4 separate regions of the Homo sapiens genome follow, and all the other regions are linked to region 1. Evidence: promoter capture Hi-C in 16 types of primary human blood cells and fetal thymus (Javierre and others, 2016). All regions are on one chromosome and are shown on one strand. Each heading gives the region's core, a stretch centred on a gene start or on the middle of the fragment in contact. The rest is flanking DNA. Distances are from core to core; before and after follow the strand shown.

Region 1 (2,617 bases), core at 36-2,535:
GGAGGAACAACGACAAGAAAAAATGAATAATCAGGGTACCGTTTGAAAAAGTAAATGTGTTTTTCAAAAAAAAAAAAAATCATTCAATTGCACTATTTTAACTGACACCAATCATGCCAGGCACTGGGCTGCCATCCTAAAATGATGACATTAAAAAAAATATATCTGTGCATTACTGATACCCCATTTTTTCTTAGTACTCCATATTTTGAGTATTTTCAGACATAACAAAATAACAATCGACATGACATTTCTAAAACAGTGGGAAGCAGCTAAGCAAAACGAGCATTTTGCAAGCGATTGAAAAGCTGAAAAGAGAACAGGAATTAACTCCAGTTTGTACTAAAGCTATTAGGTATGTATCTCAGCAGTCTTTCTCACCATGAAACTCCTTAACATCTAAAGCTAAACCACATCCAACTTTATATGGTTTTAGAAGACAGACAAAGCAGAGAAAAAAAATGAAAGCTGGTAATATGGGGAAGAGAAAAAATGTTAGCTTTTACTGTCATTGTCACTTTTTAATACTTCGGTTACATCTACATATTTTTTATAAAGCAGCTTAGATGCCTGGATTAACAGCAGTATACTCAATCCATTCGGGGTACTTTATGGCCAGCCTTAAGCCATTAACAGCCTAGGAGAGTATTTGACAGCAAATCCAAATATCAATACTCTGAGGAGCCCCTTGACGCCTTCCGTTTACAAGATCTGAGCAGCGCCTGCTTCCAAGGCTCCGGGGGTCTGACAGTGAAGGATGCTGTTCGGGAACAAAGTGCAACGTCCTCCCAACCGCTGCAAATGTTCCTGTGCGCACACCACGAACACACACTAAGCACGCGCACCACGCACCCGGGGGGCCGTCTCTGAAGACCACCCCGGGGATGGAAACAGCCTGTCATTAAAAGGGGCGGCAGCTCCACCGCCACACTTGGGACCCCAGGAAGACGCGTCTCGAGACCCAGCACCTCCCTCTACTCTGGGCCCGGTGCGGTGAGTTTCCTCCTTCGGCCGCGCTCCTCCCGCCCTCCTCCCTCCGCCATGCGAAGGCGCAGCTCTCGGGCGGCCCCGAAGCCAGAAGGGGGACCAGCGGCAGGCGGAGGGGCTGGAGCGCCGGAGCCGGGCCGCTCCATCCATGCCGGCCGCACACCCGCCGCCACCCCATCTAAACGCAGCCTCCGCGGCGAGCACGTCGGCGCCCGGCTCACCTGGGGGCCGCAGCCTCCGCAGCTCACAGACATGTCACCGGCCTCAACGACCCGTGAGCGAGCCGGGCAAGCAAGCTGGCCCCCTCCCGCGCTGACCCCCAGCCCTCCCCCTCCCAGCCCCGCGGCCCGCCCCCGCCCTGCCCACCCCTCGGCTTCCGCCGCCGCCGCCGCCGCCGCAGCTCCGGCCCGCAACACCGCCTACTCTCCACGCCTCCCACTCTCTCTCGCGAGAGGGCAGCGCGCCTCTCGCGAGAAAAATTCCGCGGCCGAGCCCGCGCAAAAGTGGGTGGGCGTTTAAAAAGGGAAAGAAGGAACAGGAAAAAAAGCCTTCCCACGTGCTCCAGTGCAGCCCGCGGAGCAGCCCGCGGGGCAGCCCCGCTGGTCACATGACTTAAAGGGGGCCTCTCCATTGGCCGGGACCCACTCAGCCTTGGGAGCTTTAAATTCGAGGGCGACCTACGAACCTGCGGCGGACGTCTTGCGCGCTTCCTGGTCCGTTGCCTTGGAAACGGCTTAACCCTTCCCTCTGGCAAGTCCCCAGGCCTTGGCTTGCTCCGCAGATTTGGTTTCAGGCTCTGCCTCTTTTCCCTCGACCCCTTAGTCTTAACAGCCTGGGGCCAGCTGGGCTCCTTCTTCGCCACAAGGCTAGTTTTGCTTTCTTCCGAAGCCCGGGGCCCTTCCCAAAGTGGCAGCCCCACCAGATCCGAAGGCCCAAGGAAGGCTCATCCTTTCTGATGGCTCCGCCCCTTCTCCCAGCATCTCCGGGGAGGACCACTCACAGCGCACCGGGCAACCAGCCCTATCCCAGCCAAGAAGTAGCTTCCAGGGTTCTCAGGGCCCTAGTGCTCACCCTGATGTCTTTACGTGGTATGGAAATCGGAAAGTAAAGCTTTGGTCACTGGGAAGCCTAGCCAGAGATGAAAAGCTGTTATGGTGATTATTTTCACCTAAAATCGGAAGGGCCAGTCCAGTCAAATTGCCCTGTCTCCTAAAGGGCATCTGTTCCTCAAGAGTGGAAACACCTGGCAATAAGAAAGACATTTTTGAGTGTATCCTCGTTATGAGTTAAGTTTTGCCCTGTTCAGAGGAGAGGGTCACGGAAGAAAGGGTGCATTCGTTTGTTCATTTCTTCATTCAACAAACACTACTCTAGGCTGTTGATTGAACAATGATGAAGACAAGTAGTGTAGATTCTAGGGAACTTATCTGAGGGTGAAAAGAAAAAAAATCTGTTGGTTTTAAGCTGTATGCAAAGAAGTTACAATAAGTGACGTGATGGTGATGGTGACTGAGTGGCTAGTAAAGGGGATGCCCTTTTAAGGAGGAGATATTTTAGCAGCGATTTGAATAACAGACGCAAAAATCAGAGCATAGAGCATTCCAGGAAAAGGATAACACTAATTCAAAGG
Region 2 (2,617 bases), core at 61-2,560, 2.7 Mb before region 1:
TGACAGAAATTATATTGGAAAGGGGCCTGTAGTAGAAACATAGCCTCCGGGTAGACCAGGAAGAAAAATTAGATTCAGAAATGGCAGGGTTACTCTTTCAGCTTTACTCTTCTCCAACTGGGTGTCGGTGCTAGTCTACAAATGTGAATAAACATTAAAGCAGATAGGTATGCATGCCGGAATCCGAGAAGCATTCGTTTCGTATATACCAAGTGCCTGTTGCGTGTTCAGGTAGAAGACCATAGTGCAATGGTGGAGACAGATTATGTCGACAAATTATTCAAATACAGTGTACTAAATATGCAATGTAATTAGGAAAAAACCCGAGGGCAAAAAGAAAGGCATGACAATGCTTCGGGGAATCTGGAAAGGTTTTATTGGTGTGACATTTAAGTTGGGCCTTGAAGGATGGGGAGAAGTTTGTCAGTTATGTTTAGGAATGCAACCAGAGGAAGCCCAGAAGCCTAGAGCGTTAAGGAATTGCGCAGCAACTCAGACTGGATTGAGTATTGGGCTGTGTTTGTCAGATGCAATAACAGAATGAGAGGCTAGGAAGGCAGGTCGGGGGCTGGAGAGAACAGGATCTGCAAGGTTCTTGTAATCAGAAGGCAATATGGCACAGAGGTTAAGAGAACCGCTTCCTTCTAAGTCGCGCTCCATCACTTGCTAGCAGTATGATCTAGACACTGGCATGGGCTTGGGCGTACCCATTTGCAACATGGGAAAATAGTTTTTTTCTTATACGGCTTAAATGACTGAGTGGGTATCAGTCAGTTAGGGCAGCGTGCAGCTCATATTAAGGCTAAATGAGAATGTATTATCATCACGAAGCCAAACCACGCCAAAGCTCGTTTCTAGGAGGGTCCCCCAGCCTCCTCCCCCCTGCTACTGTTTGGGAAGAGAAAAGTTCTCTCGGGTCAGGCCGCGCCCACTCCCCACTCCTCCGCCCTCCTAGGCCTCCGACTTTCTTCAGCGAGCAGGGCCCGGCCAGGGAGTGGGTAGATGGGCCTGGTGGGCAGCGGAGACGCCGCCGCTTACCAGGGCTCGGGTCCCGCTCTTCGTCCTCCGCTGTTCCGCGGGCCTTGAAGCCGGGCGGCAGGGCCGGTCCGATCAGGTCTCTTGCCATCCGCGGTGGCGGACACTGGTCACAGATATGAGTCTATCCACGAACGTCAACCCTATCCAAAAAGAATCCCGCGATCAGCAGCGAAGAATGGCAGGTTTCCCGGCGCCGAGAAATGACGTAAAGCCTGTGGTTGGCTGAGCCTTGTAGTTCACGGTAAAGGAAGTGACGCCTAATGCTTGCTCCACAGTCGCGTGCTAGACTCCGGACCCGCCAGTGGTATGGCTGAGCCGACTAGTGATTTCGAGACTCCTATCGGGTGGCATGCGTCTCCCGAGCTGACTCCCACGTTAGGGCCCCTGAGCGACACTGCCCCGCCGCGGGACAGCTGGATGTTCTGGGCAATGCTGCCGCCACCGCCACCACCACTTACGTCCTCGCTTCCCGCAGCCGGGTCAAAGCCTTCCTCTGAGTCGCAGCCCCCCATGGAGGCCCAGTCTCTCCCCGGGGCTCCGCCCCCCTTCGACGCCCAGATTCTTCCCGGGGCGCAACCCCCCTTCGACGCCCAGTCTCCCCTTGATTCTCAGCCTCAACCCAGCGGCCAGCCTTGGAATTTCCATGCTTCCACATCGTGGTATTGGAGACAGTCTTCTGATAGGTTTCCTCGGCATCAGAAGTCCTTCAACCCTGCAGGTAGGCTATTTTTCCACGTGAGTCGACCCCTTTACCTTTTTCCCCCGTTCTTTCCTCTCCCCTTTCTCTGCTTCCTCTCTCTACTCTGCCTTGCCTCTGCACTCTTGGAGTCTGGTCATTAGCATCTCAAAGCAAAGTGAGACCCCCGTCTCTACAAAAAAAATAAAATTAGCCAGGCATGGTGGCATGCCTGTGGTCGCAGATGCATGGGAGGCTGAGGCAGGAGGATTCCTTGAACCCAGGAAGTCGAGGCTGCTTTATCAACTAAGTTTATATAATATTGTAAATCCTTTGTTCTCAAAATATGTCTGACTAGAATGTTTTCCTGTTGACTGTTAATTCCATTTAGCAGTTATTTATTGAATTCCGACTATGTACCAGAATCTGGGTATATAGCAGTGAGCAGAACATACAAAAAATATTATGGAGCTTAATATTATCTCTCTTGTGTAGGAAGACAGACAATAAGCAAAATAAAATATTGTGCATTAGAAGGTTGAGTGGCATGGAGAGAGATAAAACAAAGAAGAATGGTAAGTAGTGCAGGATTTTCTTTTTTTCTTTTTTTTTGGAGACAGAGTGTCGCTCTGTCGCCCAGGCTGGAGTGAAGAGTAGCGCGATCTACTTCACTCCAGCCTATGCAGTCTCTGCAGAGAGGCTCACTGCAACCTCTGCCTCCCGAGTTCAAGCAATTCTCATGCCTCAAACTCCTGAGTAGCTGGGACTACAGGCCCACGCCACCACACCCGGCTAATTTTTTATATTTTTAGTAGAAAGGGGGTTGCCCCGTGTTGGACAGGCCTGTCTCTAACTCCTGAGCTCAGGCATCCGCCCGCCTCAGCCTCCCAAAGTGTTGGGATT
Region 3 (2,617 bases), core at 30-2,529, 2.6 Mb before region 1:
CAATCGCGGCCCTGTAGGAAACTCGTGATATATTCTTAGCAGAGTGCTTAATCAAGGATTATTTAAGTTTTTCTTAGGGTTTAGGGAAACAAGAAGGGGTAATGCAGCTCTCACAGCTCCTGAGCCTAAGGGGCAAGGCCAGGGAGGATAGCTGATGCCGGGGGCTGCCAGGCAGAAGCTGTGTAGTTTTTGTTTGTTTTAAACTTGTTTTTAGGCCAGGGGCAGTGGCTCATGGCTATAATCCCAACACTTTGTGAGGCCGAGGTGGGAGTATCACTCGAGCAGGAATTGGAGACCAAGACCAGCCTGCACAGCGTAAGGAGACACCGTCTCAAAAATAAAAAAATAAAAAAAAAAAAAAAATTTGCCAGGCAGTGGTGCGTGCCTGTAGTCCTAGCTGCTCAAGAGGCTGAGGTGGGAGGATCGCTTGAGGCCAGGAGTTCGAGGCTGCAGTGAGCTATGATTGCTGCTGCACTCCATTCTGGGCTAGTGAGATCCTGTCTCCAAAAAGCAAGACAAAACTGCTTTCAGATGGCAGGTGAATTCCATTTATATGAAGGCTGTCATGTCTACTCATCCTATTAATCATTCATTTTCATAAAATAGAGTTTTGACCTCATGGATTTGACAGAAGCTTTCTTGAGATGGCTGTAATATTTGGTGGACTCAGAGCATAGTAGATATTTCTGAAGACAGGTACTTAATGATATGAAAGGGTTTCACTTTGTGGGGAGATGGTTACTTCAGTTATATTTGGCATTTTTATGGCTTTCCCTTTTTGTAAAACATTTTGCCATAACTTCCATTCATCATCCTCATAGTCTTTAGATTCATAGACTATTTGAGCTGGAAAGGCCCTTAGCAGTCGTTTAACTTAGACCCTCGTTTTACCCGGGAAACATCTATTCTGAGATTTTATTTCTCTGATTCCCTAGTATTGGACTTTAGATTGTATCCACAAAAGATTGAATTCCTGTCTGGTGCTCTAGCCAGACACCACTCTCTCCAAATCCTGGCGTCAAGGAGCGGGGCTTAGGGGGATTGAGTGCAGAGAAGATTCAATTATTTTTATTTATTTATTTATTTATTTATTTATTTATTTATTTATTTATTTTGAGATAAGGTCTCCCTCTGTCACCCAGACTGGAGTGCAGTGGCGCGATCTCAGCTCACTGCAATTTCTGACTCCTGGGTTGGAACGATTCTCGGGTCTCAGCCTCCTGACTAGCTGGGATTTTAGGTGTGCGCCACCGCACCCAGCTAAGTTTTATGTTTTTAGTAGAGATGGGATTTCACCATGTTGGCCAGGCTGATCTTGAATTCCTGACCCCAAGTGATCCGCCTGCCTCAGCCTCCCAAAGTGCTGAGATTACAGGCGTGAGCCACCGTGCCTGGCCAAAAAAATATTCTCTTGTATTTTTGGTCAGTGTTCACAGCATAGCTGCATAAACATAGTAGTAATTTTTCTACGTGAAGTTTTTTTTTAAAAAAATTCATCATATATAATCATTTCTAGAAAGTGATGAGCTTAACCTGTTTGGGGTATTTGAACTAACCATGTGTTCCTGTATGCTTTCATTTTTGCATATAGTCATAAACTCTGATGGATTCCACATGAAAATTGCTTTGTGCCCCTCAACAAGTGTATTTATAGTCATGCAGATTCATATGTATGTTCCCTCAGAGTATATCTGATGCCGCATGCAAAAATATCCTAAATAATTACATTAACACTTCATATATTAATATGAAAGCAAATATGAATTTTAACTCACCCACACTGTAAAGCTGAATAACTTGGAAAAACACTGACTACTTGGAAAATCACTGGAACAAATAATCAAAAAATCAATTTGCAAACTTCTAGAAGACCACAGGGCACTGGGTAATCATCCCACATTACTTTGTGAAAAACAAAGCTTATCAGATGAATCTAATTTCCTTTTGTCGCAGAGTGACAGCCATGGTAGATGGGGGAGCAATCAACATAATCTATCCTGATTTAAGAAAGCTTGGGATTTTGCAACTTGTTGTGTACTCATTAAGAAAATGTAGGTATGGCCGGCATGGTGGCTCATGTCTGTAATCCTAGCACTCTGGGAGGCCGAGGTGGGTGGATAGCTTGAGCTCAAGAGTTCCAGGCCAGCTTGGGCAAAAAAGCGAGACACCCTCCCAACCCCGGCACCGTCTTCTACCCCTCCCCGCCGCCCGTCTCTACAAAAAACACAAATCGCTTCCTCCTGCCCCTCGTCTCTACAAAAAACACAAAAAAATAGCTGGTGGTGCACGCCTGTAGTCCCAGCTACTCAGGAGGCTGAGATGGGAGAATGGCTTCAGCCTGGAAGGTAGAGGTTGTAGTGAGCCGAAATCGCACCACTGCACTCCAGCCTGGGAGACAGAGCCAGACTCTGTTTCAAAAAAAAAAAAAAAAAAAAAAAAAAAAGAAAGAAAGAAAGAAAGAAAATGTAGGTAAGACTATTCCTGTTTCATAGGGATACAGTCAAACTGAAGTTGGGGGCTCAGCTTTATGCAAATAGGCAACTTCAACACAGTATGTGCAAAAGTGACCTCTTTCTCCTTCCCAAGTCCTTTTCTACTTGGATTACTTATTTTTTAG
Region 4 (2,617 bases), core at 76-2,575, 2.0 Mb before region 1:
CCCCAGGTGTAAATATTTCTCTTATCAAAAGACTTCCTTTTGTTTTGGGCAATGGGTAATTTATCTGGAGTCCTTTGGCCTCTAGATTATGTCTTAGTATACCGGTTGGTAGAGAGTCCCTCTCTTTCCCGCTGTTGTGTTGACATGGCCTCCATTAAACACCACAGAATTTAGGATTTGTGCTGCTTGCTTCTTTATGAGGCTGGTGCCTGATAGTGGGGCCACACAAAACTGCTTCCCCTCCAGAACAAACTTGATGAGCTGATAAGTGATATAGCCATGCCCGGTACTGTTTTCATAAGTGGGTTAAATTCACATTTGCAAATTCAGTAGAGCAGCCCTTGTCCATCTCACTGTGTCGCTGTGCAGAGGAGCTGAGTTCTGAAAAGCTCTGGTTTCCTTCTCTGTAAGCCTTGCTGGCACATTTTCAAAGACCACATCAGTCAGTGTGAGTGGTCCTGGGTCCTTTCCATGCAGCTGGCTCAGAGTTTTACAGACCCTGTAACAGAATCTCATAAAGACTGGCTGCCATTTGGGGTTAAAGTCTGGTGCTTCTCCCTCTTTTCTTGTATGAAGATTTGATTTTTAGATTTGTTTGGAAAATGACTTTGTTAGCCTAAATCATCTTAGGCTTCAATGTTAAAATAGAGTGGAATATGCAGTAGTTGACTCATACTATTGTAGCTAGACAACTTGTCACTTAATACTTCATGACTTTAGGGATTGGTTAAATTAATAATTTTATAAGGCACATAGACGCCAGAGAGCTTCCTCCATTTTGTTCTTTTCTCTAGCAATGTGCGTCATCATTACACCCCTACCAAATAGTGTATTTTAGAACCTGTTATGCATAACTCTGCCTCTGCTTTCACTTTCTGTTTCCCTCTCTCTCTGCCTCTCCCTCGGCCTCTATGTCTCTTTCATTCACTCTTACTTATATATACTAAAATATTGCAAATTCGCTCCCTAATAATTAGGAAGTTTTTTGCATGTGGCTTGAGGTTGTCCTTCAAAGGTTTTAAATATGTGTTGATGAGAATAGGCATAGGGAGGCAGGTGTGGGACAGCAGATGGAAGGGATGCTCTGTGTTCAAAGATCCCACCCTAGTGAAGTGAAGCTTCTACCTGGGGTTAAAGACCAACTTCCTGATTGTAACAGCTGTGACCCAGAATCTACTCTGGGGTTGACTTCTTCTGAGAGCTGATTTGGCTGTGTGAGCCTGGAATACTGAAGTCAGGAGTGGGAGCAGCAGCAGCGACAGCAGGAGTATGTTTGCCATCAGGCATCAGTGAGCTCCTAACCCCTGGCCAGCCCGGTGTGGTGGGAAAGCACAGGTTTTGCAGTCAGGGGAGCTGGGTTGGAGTTCAGGGTTCAGCCATTTACTAGCTTTATGGTGCTGGGCAATTTATTCAATATCTCTAGTCATCAATTTACTTTTTTATTGTTGTAAAAGAAATACCTCATGTTGGTTATTGTGAAGGTTAACTGAGCAATGAATGTGCAGGTATGGGGAGTTTCAGATGCAAGCTTTGTCTCTGTCCCTTGAGAGGACAGTGTGTCATGTGACCCATTTGAGAATACCAGTGATTTAGCGCAAAAAGTTGCTTTATCTCTTCATTCCTTCAATTTTTTGTTAATACATTTGCTCATTCATTCAATGCTGGCCACGAAGCATGTGACACCAGTCAGGTGTTGGGGATACTGCTGTGAAGAGTCCGACCCTCTCCTCCTCCTACCAGTCTGGGGGAGATGCTGACCACAAATGACAGTCACAATCCAGTGTGGAGAAGCACCACACTGGGGAAAGTACAACATGCTCTGGTGGCTTTGGAGTGTCAGACAACAGAGCGGGGAAGAGGTTAGGAAAAGAAGTGGCCCACAGGATAAAAACAAGCAGCTGGGTGAAGGTGAGGCAGAGGATGTAGCATGGCACACAGCAGTGGTGAAGAAATGAGGATGGCGGGCCCTCTGTAGATAGGTGGACATGCCTGGAGTATCGAGTGTGAGGGTCGTGTTGAGATATATACAGAGATATGGAGCCATCACAAGCTATCTGCACCCAGGAGCTTTCTCCTGGCCTCCCCAGTGACGTTCTGTACCTCAGATGTTGATTCCATGGATGCTGTCATCACCAAAGATGGGATGGATGCTGGGACACTCCTAGCACTTAGAGTTAGAACTTGCAATACATGTTTCCCGTAGAAACAGCATGTTAAATGGTAGTTCAATGTAGTTAGGATATTGCTACAAATAACACCTTTGAGTGTACTTAATTTAAACCTGTGAAATGTAGAAAAATCAAAGAGGACAGGTCCTGTTCCAGGCTAGAGGTACTTTTTGCAATGCAGAGCACTATCCTTCTAGATCTGGCCAGCAGAGCATGAATCGGGACCTCAGGCTGGCTTTGCCTGCATTTGGATTTGAATTTGAATGTTTTGGTCTAGGAGGCTCTCTGCACAGGGTTTCCATGATTCCATCACTCCCTGCTGTTTCATATCTGGCTGACTTCCTCACAGTGAGGTTGCCTACTTGCCCCTGGAGGTACTGGACTTGGAAACCCTTTCTCTAGGCAGTAGGGGTTGGAGATAGCATCATCGTTTCCGACTGATTCATCAT

Evidence for each region. The method cuts DNA at HindIII sites, captures the fragments that hold promoters and counts their contacts. A CHiCAGO score of 5 or more calls a contact.
Region 2: a contact is called between the fragment with the promoter of NUFIP1 here and the fragment with the promoter of AKAP11 in region 1, in 1 of 17 cell types (naive B cells). The highest score is 8.1, in naive B cells.
Region 3: a contact is called between a fragment that was not itself captured here and the fragment with the promoter of AKAP11 in region 1, in 1 of 17 cell types (total B cells). The highest score is 6.9, in total B cells.
Region 4: a fragment that was not itself captured here is called in contact with the fragment with the promoter of AKAP11 in region 1 in 1 of 17 cell types (total B cells); the score reaches 7.2 in total B cells.

Annotation. Positions count from the first base shown.
Region 1 is chr13:42,270,820-42,273,436 of GRCh38, reverse strand. AKAP11 (A-kinase anchoring protein 11) reads right to left here and starts at 1,285. Exons shown (of 13, transcript NM_016248.4): 1 at 1,209-1,285. RefSeq lists a silencer at 1,026-1,375 and an enhancer at 1,916-2,095. The HindIII fragment of the contact is 2,900 bases long and covers 1-2,099 here.
Region 2 is chr13:44,988,164-44,990,780 of GRCh38, reverse strand. It overlaps NUFIP1 (nuclear FMR1 interacting protein 1), which reads left to right and starts at 1,310. Exons shown (of 10, transcript NM_012345.3): 1 at 1,310-1,756. The coding sequence starts at 1,345. GPALPP1 (GPALPP motifs containing 1) reads right to left here and starts at 1,243. Exons shown (of 8, transcript NM_018559.5): 1 at 1,039-1,243. The coding sequence starts at 1,126. RefSeq lists enhancers at 497-1,133, 1,060-1,249, 1,440-1,509, 1,134-1,772. The HindIII fragment of the contact is 7,208 bases long and covers 1-2,617 here.
Region 3 is chr13:44,913,813-44,916,429 of GRCh38, reverse strand. The region is part of intron 1 of LOC107984619 (a long non-coding RNA gene); the gene reads left to right. Among named protein-coding and RNA genes, the nearest start is that of TRE-TTC2-1, 2.9 kb to the left of the region's middle. The HindIII fragment of the contact is 1,285 bases long and covers 637-1,921 here.
Region 4 is chr13:44,272,797-44,275,413 of GRCh38, reverse strand. No RefSeq gene overlaps it. Among named protein-coding and RNA genes, the nearest start is that of MIR8079, 78 kb to the right of the region's middle. RefSeq lists an enhancer at 773-952. The HindIII fragment of the contact is 410 bases long and covers 1,121-1,530 here.